Linked DNA regions of Homo sapiens: region 1 is linked to region 2. Evidence: promoter capture Hi-C in 16 types of primary human blood cells and fetal thymus (Javierre and others, 2016). All regions are on one chromosome and are shown on one strand. Each heading gives the region's core, a stretch centred on a gene start or on the middle of the fragment in contact. The rest is flanking DNA. Distances are from core to core; before and after follow the strand shown.

What was found. The method cuts DNA at HindIII sites, captures the fragments that hold promoters and counts their contacts. A CHiCAGO score of 5 or more calls a contact.
Region 1: a contact is called between a fragment that was not itself captured here and the fragment with the promoter of ITGA11 in region 2, in 1 of 17 cell types (M1 macrophages). The highest score is 6.8, in M1 macrophages.

Annotation. Positions count from the first base shown.
Region 1 is chr15:68,894,809-68,901,716 of GRCh38, reverse strand. No RefSeq gene overlaps it. Among named protein-coding and RNA genes, the nearest start is that of SPESP1, 32 kb to the left of the region's middle. The HindIII fragment of the contact is 2,703 bases long and covers 2,756-5,458 here.
Region 2 is chr15:68,428,129-68,435,297 of GRCh38, reverse strand. It overlaps ITGA11 (integrin subunit alpha 11), which reads left to right and starts at 3,135. Exons shown (of 30, transcript NM_001004439.2): 1 at 3,135-3,283. The coding sequence starts at 3,232. RefSeq lists a silencer at 1,134-1,428 and an enhancer at 3,975-4,734. The HindIII fragment of the contact is 3,996 bases long and covers 1,687-5,682 here.

The sequences.
Region 1 (6,908 bases), core at 2,858-5,357, 470 kb before region 2:
TGGAGTGCAGTGGCACTATCAGCTCACTGCAACCTCCACCTCCTAGGTTCATGCAATTCTCCTGCCTCAGCCTCCTGAGTAGCTGGGATTACAGGCGCCCACCACCAAACCCGGCTAATTTTTGTATTTTTAGTAGAGATGGGGTTTCACCATGTTGGCCAGACTGGTCTCGAACTCCTGACCTCAAGTGATCTACCCGTCTTCGCCTCCCAGAGTGCTGGGATTACAGGCGTGCACCACCAACGCCCAGCCCCAAGCACCATGTACTTTTATAATTCCAAATTATTTGCTTATGTAATTATCTGACGAATATCTGTAATGTTTATGAGAGTAAGAGCCTTGCCTGTTTCTGTTCATTAGTGCTTCAGTGCCTGGCATATACCAGGAGCTCAAGAAGTGGAAGACATAAATCAATCAACAATTTTACATGAAATCGGTATAGCACTTGGTTCTGACTTGGGTGCACATCACAATCACCTGGGGAGTTTTTTTTAACCCCAAATCCTTGTCTTCAATGCAAATGTATTAAGTCAGAATAGCTGGAGGTAGCGGCTTGTCATCATATATATTTTTTTAATTTCCCAGATAATTTCAGTCTGTAGCAGGGATTGAGAAACAAAGACAGTGTCTCTGTTAGGGTTTGCCAAGAGGAGGTGCCAAAACAACCCTAATAGTACAAGGAGAGTACTTGCAGCCACCCTGGGACCTCCCGAGTGAAGGGAGCCCATCTCTTCTACTGAGAATCTTGGGACCTGGGTTTTGATTTGGCTAAGTGGGAGTACCCCCATCCCCACTGCATACTTCAGAATGGCAAATGCATTACATATGAAAGTAATATGCATAGTGATTCAATCATAATAAACAAGAATGGCCCTCATTCCTCAGGTGAGGTTTTCCTCAGCCCAGGCTCGAAGGAGGGAATTTTCCTTGCCCAGCTCTCCATTAAGGCCAGCCCATGCTGTGAACGGTCTACAGAAGCTTGGCTTTGTAAAATAACTTCTGGCAGTGAATAGCAGAGGCAGGATGCTCCTAAGTGGGTGATGTTCCAAAGATTTCTGGCCTTCTTCAATGGGGCAACCTGAGTTTTGTGTTTTCTACTGCAGAATGCTGAATGGTTTTGCAGGCTGTTTTGTTTTAAGAAATGGTGGGTAAGATATTTTTGGCTTTGGTTGGGGGAAGAGGGAGGAGGTTTGTGGACAGTTGCTAGCCTCAGATCTCTTAGCTAGTCCAGGGTAGAAACCATCATATTTTTATAAAATATGTTATAAATACCATATTTTACTGTACCTTTTAATGATATGTTTAGATTCACAAATACTTACCATTGTGTTACAACTGCCTGCAGTATTCAGTACAGTAACATGTTGTACAGGTTTACAAACCTAGGAGTGATAGGCTATAGTATACAGCCTAGGTGTGTAGTAGGCTATGCTGTGTAGGTTTGTGTAAGTACCGTACACTCTATGATGTTTGCACAGTGATGAAATTGCCTAACACCATATTTCTCAGAACATAGGCTTCTTGTTAAGCAACTCATGACTGTATTGTCCCAAGTCAATATTCAGCCTTCTATCTTAGCTGCTCAGTCTCAGAGAGTAAGACAGGCAACTTCTCAGCGTGCCACCCCTCAAGTCATGACTCTGTGACCAAATATATGTGTCCCAGACACTACGTCCTCACAATCAACCTCTCTCTCTCAATCTTCTTATCCTGTTCTCTGCCTTTCTCTCCTAGCAGAGTGGTTGAACCTGAGAAAAGAAAATATGACTTCAAAAGTGTTTAACTCCCTTCTCTTCACTGTCTTCAGTGTACCTGATCCTGTGCTAAGGATTTGAGTACATTTACAGTAAAACCAACTACTGTACATCATGCGCAGAGTCCTGCAAGGGTGCTCCTACTAGCCAGATATCATTTCACAGAGGGGCCTTGAGCTCACAGAGGTAAATAATTACCCAAGCTCACACACACCTGATTCCAAGGCCATGGAATTAGAAAAATGAGTCACAGGGCCAGGCGCAGTGGCTCACACCTGTAATCCCAGCACTTTGGGAGGCTGAGGCGGGCGGGTCACTTGAGGTCAGGAGTTTGAGACCAGCCTGCCAACATGGTGAAACCCTGTCTCTACTAAAAATATAAAAATTAGCCAGGTGGTGTAGCAGGCACCTGTAATCCCAGCTACTTGGGAGGCTGAGGCAGGAGAATTACTTGAACCAGGGAGGCGGAGGTTGCAGTGAACCGAGATTGCACCACTGCGCTCTAACTGGGGCAACAAAGCAGGACTCCATCTCAAAAAAAAAATGAGACAGACCCTGAGATCAGATCCCAACTACATCACTGACAAACTAAACTTGAGCAAGCCATGTATTTCTCCTGAGGCTCCCGTCTCATCAACAGAATGGAGTGTTACAAGAAGCAAAGTGAACAACAAATGTGAAAGCCCCTAGCAAATTCCTTGAGCACAGTGGGCACTTCATAAGTATGTGTCCATCTGTCTCTGTCTGTTCGTCTTCCCTTCCTCTCTCATTCTTTCTGGTTGGAACAGAGTAGGCTGTTATTAAGATGTTAGCCTGAGAGAGAACATGGTCCACAGTCCCATCTCCTTCAGAATTCTTCCAGTTCTGGGCACTCACTGCTTCATGGCTCCACTCCTTTCCTGGTTGGGTAAAAACGCCAGCTAATACAAAGATGAGTATTAGGAAAACCCATAGATATTACAGTATCTATAATATGGAAACAGTTCAGTGATGGAGAAGCTTCTTCCCTGGAAAATTAAAGGCATTAAGAATCTGGCTGGGGCTTCTGCGACCAGTTCTAGCGAGCTCTTTGGATCCTCTGCCTGTAAGATCCTCAGCATGCCAACATCTCCAGCACTCACAGCACTTGCTCCATCTCGCTGCGAAAAGGCTGAGCATGGGTCTGCATGATTACCAGCTGCTGGTCCAGCCACTGTGTAGCCTGGTCTTGGTACCAACATCATTTGTCTGAGTTTCTGGCCTTGCCCACCACTTCTGGAATTTTTGTTGGGTTATGTCTTACTTAATAATTTTTAGTGTTTTTTTTTAAACATGTATTTTCTGGATAAGAGTCCTTTGTTGGTTATATGTATTACCAAATAGCTTCTACTTCTATTCTGTGGTTTGTGTTATTAATCTCTTTATGAACTCTTTAGATAAGCAGAACTTCTTAATTTTAAAGTCATCGTTTTATCAATCTTTTTCCTAATGGTAGTAGGAGGCCTCAAGGGTGGTAAATATTTTCTTGGAGAGCATGGAGAGAGAGAAGGGGCAAGGAAGGAAGGATGCAGTCAGGAACCCTTTCCCTGAGAGCCTCTTTCTAGTGCCAAACACACACTAGCAGGTGACCCAGGCCGAGAGAGGCACCAAACTCCCTCACAGTGTGAAGCAAGACCACATTTCATGAAAGAATGAAACTCCATAGAAGAGAAACTAATCTGAACTTGCCACACCATGACTCCTTCTAATGGGGAGAAATTGTTCTGCATTCACCAGTCTGTAAACACTGGGGAATTCATCATAAATCAAAGGTGCACTGACTGAGCCACTGACAAGACAGCATCTGGAGTGGGCTTTCTGGTTGAGATGATGGCAGGTGCTGAGCAGGCTCTTTGTGTTTCTCAGAAACAATGCAGCCATGTCCCCAGGTAGGCTTAAAACCCAGCCAGGCTCTTCTCCCAGTCTTTTATCATTTTTTTACAGATGAAGTCTCACCCTGTCACCCAGGCTGGAGTGCAGTAGCACCATCTCAGCTCACTGCAGCCTCCGACTCCTGGGCTCAAGCAATCCTCCTGCCTCTGCCTTCGAAGTAGCTGGGACTGTAGATGCATGCCACCATGCCTGGCTAAGTTTTTTGCTTTTATGTAGAGACACAGTCTCCCTATGTTGCCCAAGCTGGTCTCAAACTCCTGAGCTCCAGTGGTCTCCCATCTTGACCTCCCAAAGTGCTAGGATTACAATTATGAGCCATGATACCCAGCTGCTTCTCCTTGTCTTAAAAATGCCTTTGATCTCTTTGTTCTAATTATAGAACTTGCACATATTTAAGTGAGAAATTTTATAAATTTAGAAAGACAAAAGAAAAATTATCCATAATTTTGTATGTCTGTAGATTTATGTATATCCACATAAACAAAATAAGTATCATCATTTAGTATAAGTATATTGCGAAAAAATTAAAACAGACAAATACATGGAAAAAGCAAAATTCACCTTTATTCCCACTACCATTATAAATATTTCAGTCTGTAGCCTGTTGGGGCTTTTTCATGTGCCCATGTTTTTATATCTAATTTTCTTAAAAATCAGGATCATGCTGTATCTGCCCTTTAAAACCTCCTGAACAACATGTTCTCATTAACTGTTATCATCCTCATGACAGCTTTCTTTTACTAGAGACTTGTGCTGTGCTTACTGAATCCTCACCTCTCCCCTGTCAGGCGGGTATTCTTATTGTACAGGTAAATGAGGAAAGAGCCAGACTCTGCTCCCTAGAAATAGCCACAAACTCAGCCAATGTGTAACCAGCACCCTGTCAGGTCAGAGTGCTTTGTCCACAGAAGTGCTCAGGGCCAAGTGGAAGCAGACAGAGCTTCTCAGCTGCCCTAAGTCACCAGATACTTCCATTGCTTGCAACTCCTGATATTTTAGACATTATAGAAATGATAAAATAGGGTTACAAAAATCATTATGTATTTGAGATGCTTACATTTAATAAGCTGACACTTTTTAAACTCCATCAAAATATATAATTCATCATCATTATGGAATTCACAGGATATTTACAGGATTTATAAAAAATAAAGTGAGATCAGTGATTCATCACTACTTTTATAAATCCTGTAAATATCCTGTGAATACCATAATGATGGTATTCTACCTACCAGCAGTGCCTTCCACTAATGGGATCCAACGCTGAAGCTGTAAGTTGCACATCTCTTTCTTCTGTCCTTGTTGGTTTATCTCTGTGATCACAGATAGAACCTCTTTGGGATGGATGTAAGGTCCAAATTCTAAATTTAAGGGCCTCTGTGAATTTGAAGCCCAGGACACAATAGGCCCTGAATGGAAGGAAATATTGAAGGCCACCCTTTTAAGCCCATCAGTAAGCTCATAAAAATTCAAACCCATTGGGAGAATTGCCCCAGAAAAAGAAGTTAGAGAAAACCAGCTAACACTGTCAGGTGCACTGTTTCTGAGCATAAATCTGTAAGAAAAAAATTATCACCTTTGTAATCAGGTATAACACAGTTATCAGTTACCACCTTGTCTCCCTACTGGAATATATAGAGGTAATAAAATAAATAGAACCAGCAGCTTTTTCTATAAGCTATCATAAATCATCCTAATCTTTCTAAGGGCAGAATATGGACTCCAGAGACTGGAATTTCAATCTTACCTCACTCATTCTTCTTACTAGCTGTGAGACTGATTCACTGTAAGCTTTTAACCTCTTTGAGTTTGTTTCCTAAATTATAAGGGAAAAGTAACTTCTATTTCATAGGGCTTTGCAAGACTTGAGTGTAACAATGATCATGAACATTTCTAGTACCTCGGAGGTGCTCGGTAACTATTGGTGATTTTCTGAACAGTGATAATTATTCCTAGGTTTACTGGTGAATATTCAAACTGCATGTAACCTAAATAGGTAGCAAGTTGGTCCCATAATCAAACAGATAGTAACTAACTCCAAGTGACTTTAAACAAAATTGATTTGACTATTCATCCCTATAAAATATCCTTAATGTATAAGGAAAACTACCCCCAAAAATCATAAACTCTTTTCTATAATCTTATTATTGGTGTAGTGTTGGTATTGTTACTCTGAAACATTGTGTGTGCGTGTGCGTGTGTGTGTGTGTGTGTGCACGCACATGCACACTGTAGAATACAGCAAATGAGTAGTTGTATGATCTTCTAATTCTACCACCCCAGTGTCATGAGAACTGGGATTCTCACATGAAAGAAAGAGAATAGGCCGGGTGCAGTGGCTCACGCCTGAAATCCCAGCACTTTGGGAGACCGATGCGGGCAGATCACCTGGGGTCGGGAGTTCGAGACCAGCCTAGCTAACATGGTGAAACCCAATCTCTACAAAAAATACAAAATTAGCTGGGCATGGTGGTGTGCACCTGTAATCTCAGCTACCTGAGAGGCTGAGGCGGGGAGAATCGCTTGAACCTGGGAGGCAGAGGTTGCAGTGAGCCCAGATAGCACCACTGCACTCCAGCCTGGGTGACAGAGTGAGACTCCATCAAAAAAAAAAAAAAAAAAGAGAGATAGAGCATAGACATTTAAGTTAGTAGAGTTGTTTCAACTAATGGCAATATAGAGACCTTATTTGGATCCTGATTCAAGTAAACTGTAAGATAATGACATTTGAAGCAATTATAAATTTGAACATTGACTGGGAATTTGATGATATTAAGGAATTTTTTTTTTTTTTTTTTTTTTTTTTTTTGAGACGGAGTCTCGCTTTGTCGCCCGGGCTGGAGTGCAGTGGCGCAATCTTGGCTCACTGCAAGCTCCACCTCCCGGGTTCACGCCATTCTCCTGCCTCAGCCTCCCGAGTAGCTGGGACCACAGGCACCTGCCACCACGCGTGGCTAATTTTTTGTATTTTTAAAAGAGACAGGGTTTCACCGTGTTAGCCAGGATGGTCTCGATTTCCTGACCTCATGATCCACCCGCCTCGGCCTCCCAAAGTGCTGGGATTACAGACGTGAGCCACCAAGCCCGGCAATATTAAGGAATTTTTTAATTTTGAGTATGACAGCAGTATTGCCATTAGCTTTAAACTGTGCTTGTTTTTTAGAGATAATGTTAAAATATTTAAAGATGTAAAGATATAAAGTCTCGATAGACTTCTTGTTTCTGGTTGCACATGTACGGAAC
Region 2 (7,169 bases), core at 1,886-4,385:
ATGTAGCAACTGTGGAAAATAGTTTGGCAGTTCCTCAAATGATTAAACATAAAATTACTATATGATCAGCAATTCCACTCCTAGGTGTATACCCAAGAGAACTGAAAACATACATTCATACAAAAACTTGTATGAACATTATGCTAACATTATGCTATGTTAATGGATGGTAGAACTGCTACCAGCAAGACCGGCAGCACAAGTGTTCATAGCCACATTATTCACAATAACCTAAAGTGGAAACACCTAAATAAGCCTCACCTGATGAATGGATAAACAAAAGGGGGTAGATCCATACAATGGAATGTTACTTGGCAATAAAAAGGAATGAAATACTGATACATGTTGCAACATGGATGAACCTTGGAAACATCATGCTAAGGGAAAGAAGCCAGACTCAAAAGGTCACGTATTATATGATTTCATTTATATGCAACGTCCAGAATAGGCAAATCCATAGAAATAGATTTGTGGTTGCCAGGGACTGGTGGGAAGGAATGGGGAGTGACTGCTCATGGTTACAGGGCTTCTTTTTGGGGTGATAAAAATATTGTGAAATTAGTGAGGATGATTTTACAATCTTGTGAATATACTAACAACTACTGGATTCTATGGCACAGTTTATGGCATGTGAATAAATAAATCAGTTAAAACACTGTGTACATGTAAAGAGTTATTATTATTATTCAACAGAAATCACAGCTTTCATAAAGCCCTTCACCAAATTCTCTGCAGTTCTCCAGCCTTAGAGTCTGGATTGTGCACTTGTCACTCATATGCTGCTGCCTTGGGTGTGATTTAAATAATGTTTAATAGTGATGAAATAATAAATGGTTTTAAATAGATTAATAAATAACAGATTATGATTAAATAAATACATGGTTATGTCTTGTCTCCTCAGCTCCATCACCAGCTGCCCTAGTGTGGGGTTCTCCTTCCGTGTGTCCTACAGAGCACAGGGGCACAGTAGGCACTCTGTAGGATCTGTTGAAAGAACAAATGAGGGCACACCTCTCCCCTCACCCTCCCACATTACACAAAAGCACACAGAGTGATCCTCAGGACCCCCATTCCCCAGGCACCTGTGAGGACGGTGAAGGTGAATGAATGGTAGAATTGTTACCAGCGAGACCAGCAGCAGCGCAGCTAGGACAGCCACTACAGTGCGCCCCTTCAGCAAGCAGCATGCAGACTCTGAGCACAAGCTGCAGACCACCCACACGTCAGAGGTGCCTGGGGCACCCACCAGCATGCCCTGATCCTTGGGGAATTTGCATTCTTTGCACGTGCTCCAGGTCGTTCTGATGCACCTGGAGATTTGTGCAAGGCAGGAATGTGGGCTGCAGCCCATTCCCTAGCTGTAGGGGTGTTCTACATTCAACTCAGCTGGCTTAAACTCAACTCAGTGAAGAGGACTCACTGTCGTATAACTGATAAGTCCCAAGGGGAGTGGGGTTAAGGGGTGGCTTCATTCAGGAGTTCAACAAGATCCTCCATTCTGTCATCCAGTGTCCACCTCATCTCAAGGCCAGATCCTCCTTCCCTACCCTGACCCTGTCAACTTCTGAGCCTACAAAGTTCCTTGTCCCAGGCTGGGAGAGGAGGCAGGAGTGGGAGAGGTGAGGAGAGAGAGTTAGTTCATTTGTTTGTTTGTTCTAGGGGCTCTTTTAGAAAGGCAAGAAAGCTTGCTTCCCAAAAAAACTTTTTCTTTTGTCATATTGCCCTTTCTGAAACGATGGGCTGGGAAGGGCAACATACTGATTCATTTCAGCCTGAACCGCATGCCTCCTTACACACACACACACACACACACACACACCAGGGACGGAATCACCTTCCCCGAGTCTGTGGCTGAATGGGTGAGGTGAAGATGAAGTAAAACCCAGATAGCCAACCGAAAGATAGTGAGGTTGGGAGACGAGCACAAGCCCACTTCACTTATGTGAACCTGGGTCTTCTCAAACTCCAGCTCATCTTCAGGGGCCCTGACTGAACATCACCTCCTCTGGGAAGCCCTTCCAATACCTCCCAGATAGAAAACTCTATCCTTTGTGCACCCACACACCACCTGTACTCACCCATCCATCCACCCGCCCACCTACTTTGTTCCTGGGTGTTAGGGGCTGAGTACTCCATTGTGAACCAGAGATTTCTACCCTGATGGTGTTTTCAGTCTGCACAGGAGAGAAAAGTTAAATGATCACACCAATTGATGCCTTGCTTCTCTACTAAGCACAATGAAGAGAAATGAGGGAGAGCGGGCTGGGGAATATCAGCATGTGTCTGGGACTCAACCTGGTGGGGACGGGAAGAGGGGGTGAAGGAAGCCTTTCCTGAGAAAGTGGGGGAAGGGCGCTCTGCTGTGGCTTTCCCTGCATCTTGGCCTTCCTACCCTCTGCCTCGGCTTCCTCCATTGCTGGAAAAGCCTCCACAAGCGCGGTGGAGGTCCGGGGCCTGGATTTAAAGCTCTTGAGATAAATGTGCATTGAATTTAACTACCAGTGATTAGAAGAGGGAAAGAAGGTGGCAGGGTTACAAAGAAGAGCTTCACGTTAGGTTAAGAGGGGGTGCACGGTGTCCCTGGGTGCTTTGGAATGCCTCAGGTGTGGAGGCTCAGGGAGTGGCAGTGGAGGCGAATCTGCATGTATTCCAGGGTCAGAAGAAACACTAGCCTCTACAATTCAAGCCGCAGGGTGCAGGGAGACACGGGGATGTCTTAGAATGGACCTTTGAGGGACATCCACTCACTTGGCCAAGGGAGACCTGCGTTCCAGCAGGTGTTCCTGAGCCAGCTTGGGTACCCTCTGAGTTTTGTGAATCTCTTTTCACTGGGAAATGGGAATAAAAACCACTTTTCCTGAACAGAATCTGACTGAGGCGGTGCGGTGCTACACTGGTGAGGGGGTTCCCAGGAGCGGTTCTCTGGAGTTTTCTCCAGAGGCTGACGTGGGGTTGGCGGAGAAGGAGCGCTGCACAGGCGCGTCGAGGCAGCGCGCCGCCTGCCCAGGTGGCAGAGCGGCCGAGACTGGCCCAGAGCCCGAGCCGGAGTGGTGTCCGGCGCCCCTCCCCTCCGCTCGAGCCCTCCCACTTCCTCTGAATGAGCCGCAGCTGTCAGGGAGCCCGGCGCCCCGCGCAGTGCAGGCTGCAGGCGCCGCGCCGAGGAGGCTGCCGCTCTGGCTTGCCGCCCCCCGCCGCCGCTGCACACCGGACCCAGCCGCCGTGCCGCGGGCCATGGACCTGCCCAGGGGCCTGGTGGTGGCCTGGGCGCTCAGCCTGTGGCCAGGTAGGTGCCCACCCTCTGCCTCCCCTTGCCTCTCGGAGTCCCTCCCTGGGCCCTCGGGGCTTGGATCCAGCGGCCAGGATCGGGACGCGACCCTCCTCCCAGGGTCAGACCTCAGCTGCTCTTGGGGACGTGGGTCCCCCAGGGACTGGCCCCAGTCTAGCGGTTCAGTCAAGTTTCGCTAAAGAGGGAGGTGCGAAGGCTATTGAAAGCCGGGACTCTTTGGTGTGTTTGGGAAGAGTTGAAGAGGCTTGAGTTGAAAAGCTCCCAGATCTGGTGGCCCTCCTGGGCGCCTTAGGTGCCTCCAAGGCCCATGCCGGGGTTCCCGCACGGCTGCCAGGGGCACTCGGGTGTCCCGGGAGCGCCGAGGGCGCACGGCCCCGGCTGGGGAAGGGAATCAGCGCCAAGAGAGTGTGCCCTGGCTGCCCTCCTGCCTGGCTCCGGGGAAGCATCTCAAAGTTTGGAGAGCCGGGCGCGGCGGCCCCGGAGGGCTGAAGGGTGGGGGTGAGGGCTGCGCAGAGTGCCTCCGGCCAAAGACAGAGCAAAGCCCCGGGGCGATGGCCGGTAGGCGGGGGCTAGCTCTCGTCTGCCCGGCCAGCAGCGGCGGGACACAGTCGCGCAGCGCAGGACCCCCGAAACGTTACCTGACACCCGGGGTAGGGACCCGGCATTGCCTCCCAACCCGCGCTCGGAATTATGCAATTATTCAATAATCTGGGGAAAGCCGCCGTCGCCTAGACGCGCGCCGCCGCCTAATGCACTCCAGGTGTCGGGGCGCGGCAGGAACCTCCGGCCCGAGGGGCGCGCGGCTGGGAGCGGGAAGCCAGCCCTGAGCTCTCCGCCCTAGGGTACCCTGGCCCCGGCCGTCCCACACCGGGCTCCCCGGCTCCACCCTCCACGCGGGGCGGCTGCCAGTGATGCTGTTCTGCGGAAGACGGCCAAGTGCTCCGGCAAGGGCCAGCGCCTCGGTTACTGGCCGGGTGTGGGCGCTCAACCTTGCCTCCCCTTCTGCGTGGGCTCCAGGCCCGAGCTGGGGCCAGTAGTGGGGGTCAGATGCGGTGGTAGTGGGAGAGGTGCCCTCAGGGAGCTCAGGTGGAGACCCCTATCCCGCAGCCGCTTGCCCCAGTCCCCGGGTACCACGCGAAGCAAGTCCACCCTCCTGTCGGCCTACAGAGGAGCTTCTCAGAGGGCCCATGGTTGAAAGGGCCTCTGGCTAGTGGAATCCTAGAGTCACAGTTTAAAACAATCATTGATACATTGAGTTGTGGGGGCTTGGAAGGGAGAGCAGGGGAAGAACTGCCACCAGGCCAATATGCAACTAGAAGCCAGCTGCGGGAGGAGGCCAAGCCCATTTAGGTGTGTTTAGACAGGAGGGGAGAATCTTCTCCAGGAACTGTCCTCATATCACTAGGAGATCCAGCCACAAGAAAAGAGACGCACTCCTGTGTGACTCCAGATAGGTGGCTGCATCAGAACCTTGGGAAGGAGTGGCTGCCTTAGGGGCTAGGGACAGCCTGGACCTCAGGAAGCTAAGAGCAATGGCTTTGGAATCAGACCTGGCTTCCACTTCTGGCTCTGCACCCTGCTAGCTGTTCAATCTTGGACTGGTTATGCGACCTTTCCAACAGGTTTCCTTATGTGAAGAATGGAGACACAAATTCCGTGTCCTGTAAAGTTGTCAGGATGCACTAAGGCACTGTAAGAAAGGCCCTTAACACAGGGCTGGGTGCACAGTAGGCTTTAATCAATGGTTGTTAATGTTGTTGCTACTCAAGGAGGAGGGGGCAGAGAATGACATTAAAGGACCTCTGAAGACACAGGATTTGTGACTCAGAGCTCCGCTTATATGGCGAAAACCACTCCTGAGTTATGTCTGGTCAGTTGCATTCTTGAAATATGGGATTCATTAAACATATCAATCAATGTTGGAACAATGACATCTGCTTGCAAGGAGCTGGGGGTGGGGCCCTAGCGTGTGTGCAATCTGGGTCCTGCCTGTAACTGAGAATAAGCCAAGGCCAGGGAAAGCTAAACAGAGGCACCAGGGAGTGAATGGCTTGGGGAAACCAAGGGCTGGGTGTTCAAACAAGAGAAGTTCAATTTCAGCCAGATAAGCAAGGAAGGCTTCCTGGAGGAGGAGATATCATTTGAACTGGCCCTGGAAAAGTGTGTAGAGTGTGCATGGGCCTGAAAGTGGGAATGTTCATATTTTGGAGTATTATTTTCTGAGACTAGTTAAAGAAGATGATGAATATTTTAAAACCACTCTGGTCAGTGTGGACTTTGAAGACTAGAAGGGTCTCAGGGATCATTGGGTTCACTCCTCAGGCTCCAGGACAGGACTGATGTTGATACCTCATCCATGCATCACATGAATTCAATGTGAGGATTACCAGGAAGCTTGTCTACTGGTGATGGCAGTTTGGCTGGGCAGGGAACCTGTCAGAGGCCAAGTTGAGGGTGAGACCTCAGAGCATCTACTCTCCCAGAGCTCCAGCTGCAGGCTGGACAGCGTGATGGGGTAGACAAAACTAACAGGAAAGCCTAAAAAAAAAGTAATCAAGTCCAAAGAGAGAGATCCATTGACCAGAGCTTTACAGTCATAACCTATCTGTAGGAAGGGTGATGATTCTTAGAAGCATAATCTTTGCTGAGCACCTGTTATCTGCCAGGCCCCATAAAGACACAAAGTGAGATCAGACACAGCGTAAGGGTGGAGGCCCTGGAGTTTCACTGCCTGGGATTGGCCTAGCCCCTGCCGGTTAGGGCTCTGTGCTCTTGGCAAGTTACTCCATGGCTCTGTGCCTCAGTTTCCTCACCTACAAAGTGGGGGTAATAATAGAACTTAGAGTTATCACAAAGATTAATGCTTAGAAAGTGCCAGGCATGTATTAAGCACTCAAGGAGGTTGTCTTCTCCAACATCATCAGCAGCAGCAGTAGCACTCAAGATATTGACTATTCAGGATCTAAGGACACAGAGATATAACTTTCAAACTCAAGTTCTCAAGAGAAGTTTAGAGGAAGTACATTGAAGAATCAGAGGAGACATACATGCCAGGGCCCCAAATGAGTGAAGACTTTCCTAGTCCCTCCCGCAAAGCCCTGGCCCAAACTCTTGATCATAATAAGAACTCAGGGTTGTTGTTTTGTTTGTTTGTTTACCATCGGGGCTGTCTTGAAGTCAGTATGCTCTTGATGTGGGTGTATTGTGGTGTGGAAAAGGAGAAGGCCCATACCATGCAACATGGCCCTTGTGGGTAGGGGTCCTACCCAACAGAAAGCAACCTGTGGAAAAGCACAGTGCTAGACACCACAGGTGTACAAAGGCTCCAGAGGTCCAAGACTTGCTCCCAGCCTCTCCTTCCCAGTGGAGAGCAGGGAAGAAGGGAAAGTTTGTCACTTTGCCACCCCATTGCCCACTTTGACAGCCAAGCCCCTCAGCTGCCATTAGCTGAGGAGCTTCTGGATCTTTCCATATCACAAGCAGACCCTGGAGTCTCACTCTTTTTCTGCTTACTCACCATGACCCCATCTCTACCCCACAGTGGACCCCCAGAGAGGGGATGTCTATCTCCATGCTCTTCCCACCATTCCCAGCCCATCCACACAGGGCTGTGAGCCCTGGAAGAACTCAGACAGTATCTTACCTCTCAACCTTGCCCTCTCTGAACCTCTTTTTCCACCCTCCTGTAGTGGGGAGCTCTTCCTTCTTCTAACAGCAGGGACCTTCCCTTGCATTCTCCCTCCCTTCCACCAACACCCCCAGCTCCTATCACTTAGGATAAAAATATGTTCTAAGCTGAGCTGGCTTTGCTCTTGCTATGCAGAAGGGAATTTGGGGAATTTTAAAAGCCCCTGTTTCTTCTCCACAATGCCTGACTTTGGGT